Regions from separate parts of the Homo sapiens genome. Here regions 1, 2 and 4 are each linked to region 3. Evidence: promoter capture Hi-C in 16 types of primary human blood cells and fetal thymus (Javierre and others, 2016). All regions are on one chromosome and are shown on one strand. Each heading gives the region's core, a stretch centred on a gene start or on the middle of the fragment in contact. The rest is flanking DNA. Distances are from core to core; before and after follow the strand shown. Region 1 holds the start of SPATA4 (spermatogenesis associated 4). Region 2 overlaps SPCS3-AS1 (SPCS3 antisense RNA 1). Region 3 holds the start of DCTD (dCMP deaminase). Region 4 overlaps SAP30 (Sin3A associated protein 30).

Evidence for each region. The method cuts DNA at HindIII sites, captures the fragments that hold promoters and counts their contacts. A CHiCAGO score of 5 or more calls a contact.
Region 1: a contact is called between the fragment with the promoter of SPATA4 here and the fragment with the promoter of DCTD in region 3, in 6 of 17 cell types (non-activated CD4 T cells, total CD4 T cells, naive CD8 T cells and 3 more). The highest score is 13.9, in non-activated CD4 T cells.
Region 2: a fragment that was not itself captured here is called in contact with the fragment with the promoter of DCTD in region 3 in 1 of 17 cell types (total CD4 T cells); the score reaches 8.9 in total CD4 T cells.
Region 4: a fragment that was not itself captured here is called in contact with the fragment with the promoter of DCTD in region 3 in 1 of 17 cell types (total B cells); the score reaches 5.3 in total B cells.

The regions. Positions count from the first base shown.
Region 1 is chr4:176,194,251-176,196,950 of GRCh38, forward strand. It overlaps SPATA4 (spermatogenesis associated 4), which reads right to left and starts at 1,335. Exons shown (of 6, transcript NM_144644.4): 1 at 1,095-1,335. The coding sequence starts at 1,312. The HindIII fragment of the contact is 1,203 bases long and covers 825-2,027 here.
Region 2 is chr4:176,315,295-176,318,108 of GRCh38, forward strand. The region is part of intron 1 of SPCS3-AS1 (SPCS3 antisense RNA 1); the gene reads right to left. Among named protein-coding and RNA genes, the nearest start is that of SPCS3, 3.3 kb to the right of the region's middle. The HindIII fragment of the contact is 4,304 bases long and covers 1-2,814 here.
Region 3 is chr4:182,916,079-182,918,884 of GRCh38, forward strand. It overlaps DCTD (dCMP deaminase), which reads right to left and starts at 1,308. Exons shown (of 6, transcript NM_001921.3): 1 at 1,233-1,308. RefSeq lists a silencer at 940-1,649. The HindIII fragment of the contact is 3,169 bases long and covers 1-2,408 here.
Region 4 is chr4:173,373,428-173,376,183 of GRCh38, forward strand. It overlaps SAP30 (Sin3A associated protein 30), which reads left to right. Exons shown (of 4, transcript NM_003864.4): 2 at 1-88; 3 at 512-610. Among named protein-coding and RNA genes, the nearest start is that of SAP30, 3.9 kb to the left of the region's middle. The HindIII fragment of the contact is 172 bases long and covers 1,273-1,444 here.

The sequences.
Region 1 (2,700 bases), core at 85-2,584, 6.7 Mb before region 3:
CTTGACTTAATAGAAAGTTGTAAGAATGGTTACAATGGTAGGAATGAATCATATTCCTGAAATATGAAGAAAAAGAAATTCTTGATAGTTTCGGCATCACACCTCAAACTGAAAAACTTTCAGCCACAGTGTGTGATAAGTGCTTAGTTAAGATTTTTAAAAAGGCATTAAATTTGTGGATGGAAGACATAAACAGAAATGTGTTCTGACAGAGGGTTCTGTAGTATCCACAGTTGCCATCCACTGGGGATCTTGGAACCTATGCCTCTCTGATAAGGAGAGACTACTTTAAACCAGAGTTCTGCAAAAGATTCATTGCCTTTTTATAGAATTTAGTTTGCATTCCCAGAGCAAATATTAGCTGCCAGTTACATACAAAGTGCCTACAATTAAGCAGCAACTTTAAAAACTTGTTGGTAACTCTCAAACTAGATGCCATCTCCGACAAAGGGTAAACTGATCCTTACCAGTATTTTTTTTTTTTTTTTTTTTTTTTTTTTTTGAGACAGAGTCTTACCCTGCCACCTAGGCTGGAGTGCAGCGGCATAATCTCGACTCACAGCAACCTCCGCCTCCCGGGTTCAAGCATTCTCCTGCCTGCAGCCTCCCCAGTAGCTGGGATTACAGGCACCCGCCACCACACTGGGCTAATTTTTTGTATTTTTTAGTAGAGACGGGGTTTCACCGTGTTGGTCAGGCTGTTACTCAACTCCTGACCTCAGGTGATCCGCCTGCCTCGGCTCCCAAAATGCTGGGATTACAGGCATGAGCAACTGTGCCCGGCCGTCCTTACCAGTATTAATGCCCAATATCACTAAAGAAAAAGCTTTGACTATTTTAATATTTTTGTAGTCACCAAAGCATTCTATATTGTCCACAATTTAATGATTGGTTGATTAATTGAATAAACAAGATGTATCGTGGTATTTTGTTAAAGCCTTGTTCCCTAATAGTGTTTTCGTGTGTGTACGTGGGTGGGGGGGTCTTGATTTGAAACATAAGCCAGGCCAGGGTAGGCAATCTGAGGCCTGGCAGGCGGCGGAAAGCAGGCGGGGCGCCCACCGGGGGGGCCTAGGACTGGCTTACTCAAGCACCTGTTGATGTTCCTGGGGAAGAAGCTGAGATCCAGACCCTGAAGCCAACGCAGAACGGAACGAGACAAGCGGGAGCTCTTCGGCGCATGCGGATAGACCAGACACTTCTTAGGCCTCCCTCGGATGGGAGCTGCTAGCTGTGGCGAAAGTGACGGTGACTTGTCTAGGGCTGCCGCAGTCTGTGTCAAATACCCTTTTTCCTGGCCGGCGGCAGCCATGACGCTTTCTGGGTTGCTGCGGCAACAGCAGAAGGCGGGGCTGGGCCTTATTGCTGGCGGCGCGGTCTCGTGGGGCGGGGCGGAGTCTTATGGGGCGAGACCTCAGCGCCTGCGCAAGCGCCGCAGCAGCCGCCCGTACTTCCGCTTTACTCAGATTTTGGACCGCGGGGCCGGGTATCGAGGGAGGCAAAGCTGGGGTCCCAGTGGTGTGGCTGCGGTCTGGGGAGCGCTTTCAGTCTCAGATTTAGTTGGCCTCACTGTTAACCTATTTAGAGCTTTTTTTTTCTTATGTCATCGTTCATAAGTTTTGTATTTTAAATATTGTTGGTTTCTGCCCAGCCAAAGGCCTATTTTCAGTCGTCTAGTTTGAGGAGTGGTGTGAGAAGACTCCAGAGGCCAAGGACAGTTTTTGTTTGGGAATTGGAAGAGATGGGGGAAAAAAATCTTTGAAATGGAAATGAATGTCCACAAAATTTAACATAACTATTTCCTTAATTATTGCATTAAGTATTTGTAAACATTAATATTTGAAAACGATGTGTAGGTTAGATTTTCACACTTAATTAAAATCTCCTAGTAGGCATAATTCCTTCATTAATTCAACAAATATGTATTGAGTCCATATTATGTGCCACGCATTCATCTAGTCACTTGGGATCTATCTGAACACAATGAAAACAACTGCAAAGTTGGCATAGGCAATTATAAATATGTAAGCTTAATTATTAAAATCCATTAAAAATTTTTACAGCCACAGTTTTTTGTTTTTTGTTTTTTGTTTTTTGTTTTTTTTTGCTTGGCAGGGCACAGTGGGTCATGCCTGTAATCCCAGCACTTTGGGTGGTGGAGGCGGGAGGATCGTTTGAGCTCAGGAGTTCAAGACCAGCCTGGGCAACACAAGGTGGAGAGACTTTCGCTACAAAACAAACAAACAAACAAAATAGCTGGGTGTGGTGGTGCACACCTGTACTCTCAAGTACTCCAGATGCTGAGGTGGGAGGATTGCTTGAGCTCAGGAACTTGAGGCTGCAGAGAGCCAGGTGACAGGCCCTGTGGATACATACACATGGTAAAATATGGGATAGATCTTGATAATGATACTATGTAATATTTTTAATGTTTATTCATATACATGCTTATTAATAAAGTAAACCAGTGTATTCTGTATGTGGTTAAAAAAGAAAACCAAAACTGAAGCTATGTAAGTGTTTTCTGTTAGGCTAAAAAAGTTTTAATGAATGATTCATTCATTCTGTAAACCTTTTCTGAGGAACTATCCTGGAGTATGTGCTAGATCTTTACCATCCAATATGGTAGCCACTAGCCACATGTGGCTATTTAAACTTAAATTTAAATAAACTCAGTTCCACTGGCTACATTTTACCTGC
Region 2 (2,814 bases), core at 209-2,708, 6.6 Mb before region 3:
GTTCGTTACCTGTGTGTGACATATATGCTTTACATGAGAATTCTTTCAAAAATATCATGATCTATGATTTCAAGGTATCTCAATTCAATAAGAATTTTTTTGACCATCTACTACGTGCAAGGCTCAGTGTCCTGGGCACTGAAAGGGATAGAAAAATGAACAAGACCTGATCCCCACTCTCTATGATGAACAACATAATTCATAGTCACTTTCTGAAAACCATTTGAGTCCTTAATGTGCTAGATCTATAACATGCTCCATTGCAGGAACTTCCCTGGGGAGCTTGGTGCTTTGTGGACTCTTTGGATATTCCCAATAACACCATATTTAATTAGAACGTTTTTATTGGCCGGGCGCAGTGGCTCATGCCCATAATCCCGGCACTTTGTGAGGCCTTGGCGGGCGGATCGGCTGAGGTCGGGAGTTCAAGACCAGCCTGGCCAACATGGTGAAACCCTGTCTCCACAAAAAATACAAAAAAATAGCTGGGCGTGGTGGCGGGCGCCTGTAATCCCAGCTACTCGGGAGGCTGAGGCAGGAGAATCACTTGAACCTGGGAGGTGGAGGTTGCAGTGAGCTGAGATCGCGCCATTGCACTCCAGCCTGGGCAACAAGAGCGAAATTCCATCTCAAAAAAAAAAAAGAAGGCTTTTATTATATCTTTCAGTTTATCCCCTTTTTAAAAAGCATTATCTGGCCATGTGCACACAGCTTTATTTAAAGATTTCCTTATAAAGTGATTTATTGTTCTTACCTCTTCTTAGCTTGGTGTTACAGAAGAATAATTATTTGCAAATATGAAGATCAAAACTTTACATTTATTCTAGGTTTCTTTCTATCCTTCAGAAATACAGTTAGGCATGTCTTTCCCAGCTGATCGCTATTTACTCAAGCGCTGACAAAGCATGCCAATCGCTCCCCCCATTACTGCCACTAGGTTCTGAGCTGAAATCATTAAAGAGTACAAGACACTTAGTTTAAAAATGCTACGTATTAATTTAAGGTCTGTAATACTATTTCAGATAAACAGCCTCAGTTTCCTTCAGTACAACCTCAGTGTTTGACTAGTAGTATTTGCATCAAAAAGCATTAAAAATAAAATAACACGTTACAATGTTGAAGACTACCATTCATAATGAAAATGTAACTATTATTAATACTTGCTTACCAAATAATATATCAACAATTTTTGTGAAGGAGAAACTATAGGAGATGTGAGAATAAACAGACAAAACACAGTATTGGAGATTTTAACAAATCTCTCAGAATCCAAGAAAATGAAGGTAACAAATATTACTACAGATGTAAAAGACATAAATAACATAATCAATAAGGCAGATCTCATAGGTATCTATCAAATTCTATATACTATTAAGAGGAAATACCTTCTTTCAAGTTGCACATTGAATTTTCACAAAAGTGACATTTTAGGCCACAAAGAAGACCTCAATAATCCAAAGAATAGAAATATACAAACAGCATTCTCTGCCTACATGATTTAAAATCAGACATTAATTTAAAGCAATCAAAAGGAAAAATGGTACTTTCTCTTGGAAATTCATAGTCAGAAATTTTAGGATACAGCTAAAGCAGTTACCATAACAATAAACATGAAAAATATACCAACTAAATATCCAATTTCCAAAGCTAATAAACAAAAAAAGTGGAATGAAAAAAGTTGATAGTGTTAAAACCAAAAATTAATGAGTTGGAAAACAGTAGAGTTAATTAGTAAATGCAGAAGTGCTTTGAAAGAAAACAAGAAAAAATACTAATTAAAACAATAAATGAAAAAGGTAGAAAGCACAAGTATACATAATTAGAATTAACAATTAATAATTTAAAAAAAATAGAAGAATAGACTCCCTTGGGAATTTCTACCAAATTTTCTATCAAATTTTTAAAGACCAGATCCAAATGCTACTTAAAATATCCCAGTGCACAGAAAACTAAGGAAAACTTATTTTCCTTGTTATATTAGAAATATATATTTTCTAATTTGAGTATAATATTACAATCAAAAAAACACATCAGTTTCACTATGAATATTGATTACACAAACTAAAAAACAAAAAACCCCAAAATTAGCAAAGAAAGCACAAGAGCATATTAAAAACTAATTCATCATGACCAGGTGGAGTTTATTCCAGGAATGCTTACTGGGCCAATATTATAAAATCTATTCATATAACCCATTAAATAAGCAGAGGAAATAAGATAGAGGAAAGAAGTAGAGGAAATAAGATAGGGAAAATGCATCTGAAAACAATTTAGCACTTGTTTATATTTTTAAAAATTTCCCAATAGGAATAGATATTTCCTATCAATATGCAATATATATTATATAATGATACATGTACACACACACACACAATTTCCATCTCAAAGCCAACATCTTACTTGATGGAGAAATGAAAGGAAATTTCCTGCTCAAATCAGGAACAAAAAGATATCAGTTGTCCCCATCTGACTGAATATCATGTTGGAAATATTAGCTACTGAAATGAATAAACAATTGGAAATATAATAATTGGAACGGAAAAGGCAAAATGATATCTAATGTAGGTGATATAAATGTCTAGAAAATCTAAAGAAACACTTGGAAAAATAAAACAGAATAAGAAAATTCCCTATCCCATCCCTCTCCTGCTCTTTTTGTGGACTTTTATGTGTTTTTAGCACTACCAGTAAGTCAAGTTAAAAACTGTGGTGTCATAATAATAATACTAGTTTCATTTGAGTGTTCACAATCTGCATTCACTCTATGCTTTGCAGACCCCCACTCTTATTTAGGCAGTTGCTAAGTAACATAGA
Region 3 (2,806 bases), core at 58-2,557:
GATTATCATCCATGCCAGACGGATTCAAAGAAAACATCTGAAGCCTTCCCAACTCTGATATTAACCAGATAATTTTTCCCTTCCCTTTCTCCTCAATAATCCAGATGGGACAGAAGTTATCAACTCCGAGTAATGAATTACATGAGAAGAAACTATGAAAAACGTCAAGTGCTACTCCTAAAGCAAGGTTTTTGGAACGTAGTTTACCAGGGGCAAGCAGAGACTGTCTACGGCAGGGAGAGCCCACGAAGGGGGTCCTAGGACTTCAGGGGAGTGGTCGCTTTCAAAAGGAATGAAACAAGGGCAAGGAAGGAAGACAACACAAAAACGGGGTGGGTACCACGGAGAAATCTTGAGAAAGGCGAGGAATGTGGTCTAAAGGAAGGCAAGCATCTCCCAAAACTTCTGCTTCAGGCTCCACACTTTATTTAGGCATCTGCTACAGTGCAGGGCGGCAGTGCCTAAGACAAGGATGCAGTGGAGAGTGGGTGCTGGGAACCACGGTCACCCACTGATTACGCTGCCCCACATCTGAGAGGCCTGGCAACCCCCCTAACAGGAAAAGACAGGTGCTGAATCAGCCTGGTTTCCCACCTGGCTTTAGGGCCAGCATCCATCATCGCTGTGGGGTGCTGGAGAAGTACCTACTAAATAGGAGGGAGGGGGAGCCATGGGGGGCGAGGGAAGAGCAGGAGAGGGAAGGGTCCTGTTAATCCCCTGGGCGCCTTCTCCTGGTGTGGCTGAACGCCCACTAGAGCCCTGTGAGGACTGAGGCCCAGCTGTAGAAACAGAGAGAACTGGAGCTCGAATACAACGATTCAGGAAGACACATCCGGTCACCGTCCCAGGCACACCCCACGCCGCTCGCAACCCCGTCAGCTCTGATCCAGGGCCTACACCCGGCATTCCCAACCCACACACGGGCGCAGGAAGGGATGTGGTGTTCAGACGCCCAGCACCACCTCCCGGGGCACTCCAAGGGGCCCGGCCTCGCACAGGCCGCGGCGCCCGCCGAGAAATCGACCCTGGAGTGACTGCGGGGACCCCGAGCGCCCCCACCCCGCCCGCATTCTCCGATCTAAAGGCTGAGCGCGGCCGAGGCGCCCCCAGCGTCCGCGGCCCCAGGCCCCCGCCCGGCAGCCAGCGCCCCGCGCCACGCGCTCGGGACGGTGCCACGCGGCGGTGGCTAGGGGCGCGCGGGCCGCGTACCCGCACGGCTGGCCCCCGCCCACCATCCGGTGCCGGCTCCGCGCGCAGGCCGGTGCTCGTCCCCGCCGCCGCCGTGCTCAGGGAAGGAAGTCGGGGGAGGAGGCGGGGCCGCCGCGGGGCCGGAAGGGGGCAGCGGCCCGGGCGCCGCGCGTTCGCAGGACGGCGGCTGGCCCCGGGGGCCCGAAGCCCTGAGGGGAGGGAGGGAGGGACGGCGGGGGCGGGTCGCACGCCGCAAAGGCGCTGCTCCGCGTCGCCGTACGCCTCCCGGTCCCCGTGACGCAGCCCGCGGTCCGGCCGGCGGTGTTCAGAGCCCGAGCACAAACTACTTCCCGGGTGCCAGACCGCCCCGAGGTCGCCCCGCTGCCCGGGTCACGCGTGGCGCTGGGTGGCCGCGAGTTGGGCGCTCCCGGGCCTGACTGCACGACCGTCGGGGGCTGCTTGGTTTGGTGGTGGTGGCGGTGGTGAGGTTTTCCCCACCATCCGTGTTCCATCAACTGCTTAGAGACACGGCTATGGAGATTGTGATTAAAAGACGACCCCAAGAATCTAGTGCCGTGAAACTGGCGGGGCGGGAGGTGGGGAGACCTGGTTTGGGTCTCTGGAGTGAGCCCGCTGTGTCGCAGCGTCCCCGTGGGGACCCTTGGCCGGTGGCTGGGTCACAGTTTCACACACTGGATGGGGCAGGGAACTGGGTCCGGCGGGGGCGCTGTGCCTCGAGGCTCAGTGCCTCGAAGCTAGATTTGCATTTGGCTGCGCCTGACAGGCTTTCAGTTTCTGCTCAAATTGTGCGGAAGGGCCTGAGGTGTTTGCTAAAGCCTGCCGCGCCCTGCTCGACCCGTATCACCGCACAGGCACCCCACCTGCATGTTACCTCCTGGTAATGCTCGCCCACTTATATAGTGCACATTTTGTTGCAGTTGTTTCAAAGATGAGAAAAACAGGGCAATAGGAAAGACCATCAGTGACATTTCTGGAGTCGTATGCCCCAAGCAACTTAATCTGGTTTTCATGAACTTCGTTACCCTGTGCAGACGTCTAGCCCCTTACAGTGGTTCTAGCACAGAGAATGACAGAAGAACCCCTTTCTGTTTCATTCATGGGACTTGAGGGGACTGTCAGCACTCCATAAATAACAGCTACTGTAATAATCGCCAGTTCTGATCTGCACATCCCAGATTTGAACTGCTATTCCAAACAAAAGCTTGTTAACTATATTAATTTAGCCTAACGGAGGAAGAATGATGAGAGTAAACAGTTGGTTCTATCTAATTTCTCACTACAGCAGACACATCATTCTTCATCTCATGGTCCAGCTTGTAGATTCAATAATTAAATTATGTACTGCTCTTGGTGGATGCCGGGAAAGCAAAAGGGAGAAATACTTCATCGTTAACTATAGATTTTTTTTTTTTTTTTTTTGCCTTGATAAGACTCAGGCTTGAAAGAGCCACATAGATTAAGATGATGATTTTTAATTTCAAGTTGACTTTACATGGCTGTCTTGTTGCCGCTAAAATGTGTCATATATCCCGAGCCCCTGGTTTCCCTCCTCCTCCCAAATCCACCGCTTGGTCTTTGTCACACTCATCTACAGTCT
Region 4 (2,756 bases), core at 109-2,608, 9.5 Mb before region 3:
AATTCAGAGTGTTCGAAACAGAAGAAAGAGAAAAGGGAGTGATGATGATGGAGGTGATTCACCTGTTCAAGATATTGATACCCCAGAGGTAGATGGAAGTTTTTTATGCTTAATGTAAATCCTAAGTAGTGCATTCTGAAGCCTTTATAAAAAGATATGAACAATCTTTTAAGTGTTTAAAACATTTGAGAAATCTGAAAATGAAAGCAAAATTAAATATAGCCAGTTGACATGCATTTACACAGTTTGAATTGTTACATTTTAGATTGACAATTTTTGCAGCTCTGTTGTCACATAACTTACTCTTTTTTTGACCTCAGTTTATATTATTTATCCCCAAAAGATTAAATTCTTTAATAATTTATGTTGGATTATATAAATTTTTTAAATTTTTTTTGATTTTGGAAGTAAATTTTATTGTGCTGAAGTTAAAATGTTTGTTATTATACATATCAATGATAAATTTTCAACAAATTGTATGAACTCATTTATACATGTTAATTTTTTCTAGGTTGATTTATACCAATTACAAGTAAATACACTTAGGAGATACAAAAGACACTTCAAGCTACCAACCAGACCAGGACTTAATAAAGCACAACTTGTTGAGGTATATATGAGTTTTAAACTATTTGAACTATCTGCACAACCGAGAGGTTATTAAGTGCTAATGGAAGTTTTAATGTAGTGTATGTAACAGTACATTTTAATTAGAAAGAACAAAGTTAAAAAATCTGTTGTGGAAGAATCTAGTTGTGTAGAAATGTTTGTCTGCCACTTAGGAAATTCCTTTTTGTAATGACTGCTTAGTAGATTGTGTACAGCACCTTCTGATACTGGCTTTCAAAATGTGTTGATTGTTTTTTGAGACAGAATCTCACTCTGTCACCCAGGCTGGAGTGCAGTGGCATGATCTTGGCTCATTGAAACCTCTACCTACCAGGTTCAAGCAATTCTCCAGCCTCAGCCTCCCAAGTACCTGGGACTTCAGGTGTGCACCACCACACCAGGCTAATTTTTGTATAATATTTTTAGTAGAGATAGGGTTTCACCATGTTGGCCAGACTTGTTTCAAACTCCTGACTTCAAGTGATCTGCCCACCTCAGCCTACCAGAGTGCTGGGATTACCAGTGTGAGCCACCGTGCCTGGCCCTCAAAATGTTGAATGAGAGTTTTTTTAATCCTCACTTTAGAAATCTATTAATTTTAAAACTCCGTTTAACCAGTAAACATTTGAGCACCTAATTGAGGCATAATAAAATTAATTAACAAGCTTTAATGTCCTTATTAGAATTTATATTTTAAAGTGGTGGAATAGGCCTACAAATCAGACCCTAAACAGTATTTTTATAATTTGCTGACTTAACTATTTCAAAATTTGTCCTTGTTGATGTTTGTTTTATTAGAGACATCCATGTTTTTTTCACATCTAGAAGAGGCAAAAGCTTTTCTTTTACCCAAGCTTTTACTTGTAGTTTGCTTTGATAGAGGACTTCTAGTCAGTCACTGAGTTGTGAAAAGTTAACGGAGCATGCATATGTTTTCAGGATATAATAGAACCAAGAAATCTGTGCATCTTATTAAGATGTTTATAGATTTATATATATATATTTTAATCATATTTAAAATAAAAATTTTTACTTGCAGCTACTGAGGAGGATTGATTAAGCCTAGGAGTTTGAGTCACCATGGGCAACATAGCAACACTCCATCTCTAAAAAAAGAAAATTTGGCCTACTAGACAAAATAGAAGTGTAGAAATATAAATCAGTTTTCTCATATTCTTTGCATGGATTTAGTAGTTACCCAACATTTTCTAAAATGTGCCTATTGAATAAAATGAAATATGAATAGAAGTTACATTTATTTGGCAGAATGCTTTTTAACATTGTTAAAATCTAATATATTAACTATTTAGCTAAAATTTTTTATCCTTGGTTGGGCAACACAGATCTAATTAATTTTTCTTTAATTTTGATTTAAAAGATCAAGTTCTTTTGGGGTTGTACAATACATTAATGTAACATAAATATAGTTATTGCCCACCATGATGAAATATTTCAATAGGTACTAATGGAGTGAAGGCACCCCTGTTTTGGGACAAATGAGAACCAAAGAACTGATTATTTTAAATGTTATATTTAGGTATAAATTAAACCTGTAATTTTTGATAAACTGACCTTCTAAGAACAGTTATATTATTTCCAGAGCTATTTTCTTTTTTATACATAAGAGATAGCCATGAGTGTTATATTTTACTTAATCAGAAATGCAGATATTAGCAAGTTAAGGAATGTGCAGATGTAGTACATATATTTTAAGAGAGGGGTCCCCAACCCCAGGGCCATGGACTGGTACTGGTTGGTGGCCTGTTAGGAACGGGTCCGCAGAGCAGGAGGTGAGCACCAGCTAGCAAGCATTACTGCCTGAGCTCCGCCTCCTGTCAGATCAGCCACAGAATTAGATTCTCAGAGGAGTCCAAACCCTCTTGTGAAGTGCACATGTGAGGGATCTAGATTGTATGCTTGTTATAAGAATCTAATGCCTGATGATCTGAGGTGGAACAATTTCATACCAAAACCAACTCCGCCACCCTCAATCTGTGCAAAAATTGCCTTCCGTGAAATCTATCTCTGGTGCCAAAAAGGTTGGGGACCACTGTTTTAAGGGAATCCAGGGTTGTATGACTAAGTCTTAAGTCTCTTAATTATTGTGTGGATGAACTTTTTTCTTAAGAAATTTTATTTTCTGGAAT